Linked DNA regions of Homo sapiens: region 1 is linked to region 2. The links are contacts of gene promoters, found by promoter capture Hi-C in human tissues and cell types (Jung and others, 2019). All regions are on one chromosome and are shown on one strand. Each heading gives the region's core, a stretch centred on a gene start or on the middle of the fragment in contact. The rest is flanking DNA. Distances are from core to core; before and after follow the strand shown. Region 1 overlaps LOC105379136 (a long non-coding RNA gene). Region 2 holds the start of CDO1 (cysteine dioxygenase type 1).

Evidence for each region. The method cuts DNA at HindIII sites, captures the fragments that hold promoters and counts their contacts. A contact is called where the count stands out against the background at its distance.
Region 1: a fragment that was not itself captured here is called in contact with the fragment with the promoter of CDO1 in region 2 in 1 of the 25 tissues and cell types used here (small bowel).

The regions. Positions count from the first base shown.
Region 1 is chr5:116,905,244-116,908,014 of GRCh38, reverse strand. All of the region lies in intron 1 of LOC105379136 (a long non-coding RNA gene), which reads right to left. The region is part of intron 2 of LOC105379135 (a long non-coding RNA gene); the gene reads left to right. Among named protein-coding and RNA genes, the nearest start is that of LINC02214, 140 kb to the right of the region's middle. The HindIII fragment of the contact is 7,340 bases long and covers 1-2,771 here.
Region 2 is chr5:115,815,283-115,817,982 of GRCh38, reverse strand. It overlaps CDO1 (cysteine dioxygenase type 1), which reads left to right and starts at 1,324. Exons shown (of 5, transcript NM_001801.3): 1 at 1,324-1,755. The coding sequence starts at 1,586. It overlaps LOC124901049 (a long non-coding RNA gene), which reads right to left and starts at 895. Exons shown (of 2, transcript XR_007058908.1): 1 at 812-895. The HindIII fragment of the contact is 9,051 bases long and covers 1-2,700 here.

The DNA of each region.
Region 1 (2,771 bases), core at 75-2,574, 1.1 Mb before region 2:
TAGAATTTCTTCCAAAATTGAAGTCGGTCCTCTCAAAACTTGCTGCTGCTTTATCAACTAAGTTTATTAAATGTTCTAAATCCTTTGTTGTCATTTCAACAATGTTCATAGCACCTTTACCAGGAGTAGAATCCATCTCAAGAACCACTGTCTGTGTATCCATAAGAAGCAACTCTCTTTTTTATGGCTACATTATTCCATGGTGTATATGTACCACATTTTCTTCATCCAGTCTATTATTGATGGACATTTAGGTTGATTCCATGTCTTTGCTATTGTGAATAGTGCTGCAATGAACATACATGTGTACACGTCTTTTAAGAGAACAACTTATACGAGACCATGGCCTTTGCAGGGACATGTGTGGAGCTGGAGGCCATTATCCTTGGCAAACTAACACAGGAACAGAAAACCGAATACCGCATGTTCTCACTTATAAGTGGGAGCTAAATGGTAAGAACACATGGGTGCAGAGAGGGAAAAACACAAACTGGGACCTATTAGAGGATGAAGGTTGAGAGGATGGAGAGGATCAGGAAGGATAACTAATGGGTATTAGGCTTAATACATGGGTGACGAAATAATCTGTACAACAAACCTTCACAACACAAGTTTACCTATGTAACAAACCTGCACATGTACCCTGAACATAAATTAGCAGTTAAAAAAAGAGGCAACCCTCATCCATTCAAGTTTTACCATGAGATTACAGCAATTCAGTCCCATCATTAGTCTCCACTTCTAATTTTAGTTCTCTTTCCATTTCCACCACATCTGCAAATACTTCTTCCACTAAAGTCTTGGACCTCTCAAACTCATTCATGAGGGTTGAAAGCAACTTCTTCCAAACTCTTGCTTCTGTTGATATCTTGACCTTCTCCTGTGAACCACCAATGTTCTTAATGGCATCTAGAATGCTAAATCCTTTCCAAAAGATTTTCAATTTACTTTGCCCAGATCCATCAGAGGAATTACTACCTATGGCAGCTATAGCATTATGAAATGTATTTTTAAATAATACAACTTGAAAGTAAAAATGACGCTTTGATCTATGGGCTGCAGAATAAATGTTATATTAGCAGGCATTAAAAACAACACCAATCTCCTTGTACATTTCTATCAGAGCTCTTGCTTGACTATGTACATTGTCAATAAGAAATCATATTTTGAAAGGAGTCTTTTTTCTGAGTAGTAGGCCACAACAGCTGGCTTAAGGTGGTCAGTAAAGCAGGCTGTAAACAGATGTTTACAGATGTTCAGACCTTGTTGCTCCATTTATAGAGCCCAGGCTGAGTTGATACAGCATAATTCTTAAGGGACCTAAGGTGTTCAGAATGGTAAATGAGCATTGGCTTCAACTTAAAGTCACCAGCTACATTAACTGCTAACAAGAGAGTCAGCCTGTCCTTTGAAGCTGGGCACTGACTTCTCGTCTCCAGCTATGAAAGTCCTAGATGGCACCTTCCTCTAACATAAGGCTGTTTTGTCTAAATTAAAAATCTTTTGTTTACTGTAGCCACCTTCACCAATTATCTAAGCTAGATCTTCCGGATAACCTCCGCAGCTTCCACATCAGCACACGCTACTTCACCTTGCACTTGTAAGTTATGGAGACAGCTTCTTTCCTTAAACCTCCTGAATCAGCTTCTGCTAACCTCAAACTTTTCTTCTGCAGCTTCCTCACCTCTCTCAGCCTCCACAGATTTGAAAAGAGTTAGGGCCTTGCTCTGGATTAGGTTTTGGTTTAAGGGAATGTTGTGGCTGGCTTGATCTTTATTCCAGACCAATAACACTTTCTCTGTATCAGCAATAAGGTTGTTTTGCTTTCATATCATTTGTGTGTTCACTGGAGTAGCACTTTTAATTTGCTTCAAGTACTTTCCTTTGTATTAGCAACTCATCTATCTGGCACGAGAGGCCTAGCTTGCAGCCTGTCTCAGCTTTTGACATGCCTTCCTCACTAAGCTTAGTAATTTCTTGCTTTTGATTTAAGGTGAGAGACTTGAAACTCTTCCTTTCACTCTAAGTGGAGGCCACTGAAGGGTTGTTAATGGGCCTAATTTCAAGATCTTTTTATCTCAGAGAACAGGGACGCCCAAGGAGAGGGAGAGAGGAAACGGCTGGTCAGTGGAAGAGTCAGAACACGTACAATGTTTATCAGTTCAGTTTTGCCATCTTATACGGGCATGGTTCAAGGGATGCCAAAATAATTACAATAGTAACATCAAAGATCACCGATCACTGATCACCATTACAAATATAATAATGAAAACGTTTGAAATATTGTGAGAATTGCCAACATGTGACACAGAAATACAAAGTGAGCACATGCTGTTGAAAAAATGGTGCCAATAGATTTGCTTAATGTAGGGTTGCCATAAACCTTCAAATTGTAAAAAAAAAAAACTCAATATCTGTAAAGTGCAATAAAGAAACGTGCAATAAAATGAGGCATGCCTGTAGTTGAGAGGGAGATTTTCAAACTGAGAGATTAAGATATGCTAGCAGTTCTCAAACTCCTTGAACTCAGAACCCCTCATTTAAAAATCACTGAAGCTCTCCAATGGGCTTTTTTACATGAGTTATATCTCTTAATATTTGAAATTAAAACTAATTTTTAAAAATTTTATTCATATATTACAAGGAACAATAAATCTATTACATATTTTTATTTTTTATTTTTATTTTTTGAGAGGGAGTCTCACTCTTGTTGTCCAGGCTGGAGTGCGATGGTGCCATCTCAGCTCACTGCAACCTCCGCCTCCTGGGTT
Region 2 (2,700 bases), core at 75-2,574:
TGAGGAAACCATGAAAAGTTTACAGGTTACTCTGTCACAAAATACTTTGTTAATTCACTACCCCGCAGCAACACACATCACCAAGGCTGGCTTCTGGAATGCTTTCTACTTGTAGCCATTTTTGAACAATAGGTGATTCCGCTTTTAACAACACTGTTAGAATATAATGTAGCGAGTTTTACCAGAGATGTTTAAGACTACCTGGCACAAGTAAATTTCATTGTATACATGTATATACACGAGGGAGGGTGATCATAGTCTAGAAAAAAACAGGTCTTCAGAAGTCTAGAACTTTAATAACCTTAAATCCAAATTATTCCCTGCGTCCATCCATAATGAGAAGGAAGAAATCTACACTTGCATTTCTTCCACCTTTCACATCTTTCTCATTTAAATCCTACTGTACTTGATTTGTGTTGTTCCCAACGTACTAGGTGCTATGCATGACGTAGAAACGTGTTTCCTTATATGTATGTACTAGCAGGCTCCTTCAAGCACATGCCTAAGGTTGAAAGATTCAAATATAATTATAGCCTCTTAAATTATTGCGTCAGAGCCCGCCCTATCCCCTCAGAAAAAGCCCCCTTTTACACCATCAAATGAAATATCAGGTTATTTGCACTGGATATTTTTTAAAAGAAAATATTTGATTTTAAAATCAAAGAGTTCTTGGTTTTCCATCATTTCACTAATTGTCTTACTAGAGACCCGAGTCTCCTTTGTCAAAATATATTTCAGTACGCATTTTAAAAAATATGTGTGTGTGTATACTTAAATATATATATATATAAAGTCTTGGACTTATTTTCACCTAGCCTGGGGCATATCGTGGATAGTTTCAATCGACAAAACAGGCACTCTCTGGCCTAGGAGTGGAATCCATCCTCAATTTTCGCAGGCTCCTCACAATTCTCTATTTGGAAGAAGTGTCCCTCTCCTTCCCTTTTCTTTTCCTCCTTTACTCAGCGTCAGTCCCCGCAGCCATCTCCTCCGACCCTTTTTGTCTACGTCCCAGCGTCGCGAACCACAGCGGCGGAGGTGGAGCGGGGAGAGGCGTTAGGCCGGGCGGCTAAAACGCGCCGTTAAAGTGGGGGAGAGATTGCGCGGAGCCCACGCGATCCCTGGGACGCCGGAGACAACGGGGCTCTTGGGAAGGCGCGGAGCCCGGGGAAGCCGGGGATGTGCGCGTGAGCCGTGCCCGCAGGGTCTCCCCGCCTCCGCCACCTTTCTTGGGTGGCTCTCCGCCTCGTCCTCCCTCCGAGGGCCGTTGGTACATTCCTAGTGACTCCAAGCGCTTAAAAGGGGCCCGGGAGGATGAACCCCACAGATCTGAACCTGATTTGTGTGTGCACCGCGTCTCCAGCGATCCCGGATCCACTGCGCTGCCAGGGGCCTGGGGGTGGGTCTCTTGCTGTCTCTGCGACGACATCCTTACGTTTCGGCACTCTAATGCTGGGTTTGTGCGTGTGTGTCTGCTTAGCGGTCTAGCGGGCTGTTAGGCTCCCTCGCCCCCAGCTCCTTGGCTCGCTCAGCTCCTCCACCGCAGCCCAGCAGTGAGACGCGCGCGCAGCCAGCTCCCCACGAGATGGAACAGACCGAAGTGCTGAAGCCACGGACCCTGGCTGATCTGATCCGCATCCTGCACCAGCTCTTTGCCGGCGATGAGGTCAATGTAGAGGAGGTGCAGGCCATCATGGAAGCCTACGAGAGCGACCCCACCGAGTGGGCAATGTACGCCAAGTTCGACCAGTACAGGTGAGCGCGCTGCAGCTTCAATGCCAGGCGGCGCCCACTCGCCCCGTCTGAGGAGGAATGGACGTGGGGGACGCAGCCCAAAGTGACTGGCTCGGGAAGCTCGGGCCGCGCTGCGTCCGCCGCTCGCCCCCTCGCTGGCCAGCCGCGGGGCTGGCACGACTCGCTTGGGGCTCCGCGGCCACAGCGCAGGCGGAAGGTGGATCCTACTGGCCTTGCTGACCTCCGGCCGGGAACGGCGGACAGGCGCCGGGAAGGGAGGCCACCGCGCGTCTGCGAGATTTTCTGTTCTCTTCTCTCCCGCAAACCCCTCTGCTTCTAAACCACCAGTCCTCCTGCCCCTGGCCTCGGGAGCAATGCCCACACTCCCAAGCCATCGTTAACCCCGGGCGCGGAGATGCGGAGAGACCGCACTCAGGTTCGGGCCCTCCTGACACCTTAAGGAACCGTCTGGCCGGACTAGCAGAGGGTGCTCCCAGGGGAGCACTACATCAGCCATCGGGAGAAGTGTGTGATGTTGAAGAAGACAAGTCACCCGCGTCAGTTCTCCATCACTGCGCCTTCGGTCGCCTGCAACCGGGCACCTTATAGCAAGCATTTTTACTCATGTAAAATAGCGTCTTGTGGCCGTCAGCTGCCACTACGGAATTTCTGCTGTTCCCTTTCCCAAACCAATTTAACTAACTTCCCCGACTGTGGGTTTATTCAAATCCACTGCCAAGTTTCGCAGATTAAATATTCGACCGTCGTTTTTTTCAGCCCCCAAATGATCTGATTTATCTTATCCTTGCTTCTGACGATCTGTAATGTAAATTAAAGACCCCTACTTCCCAGATGTACTTGAGTGAGGTGCCCTGGTAAGCTGGCTTTTTTGCAGCCCCGGCTTGGTGATTAAGTCGAATCTCTCTACCAATCCTCCGGGGCCAGAGGTAAAATTTAATCACCCCG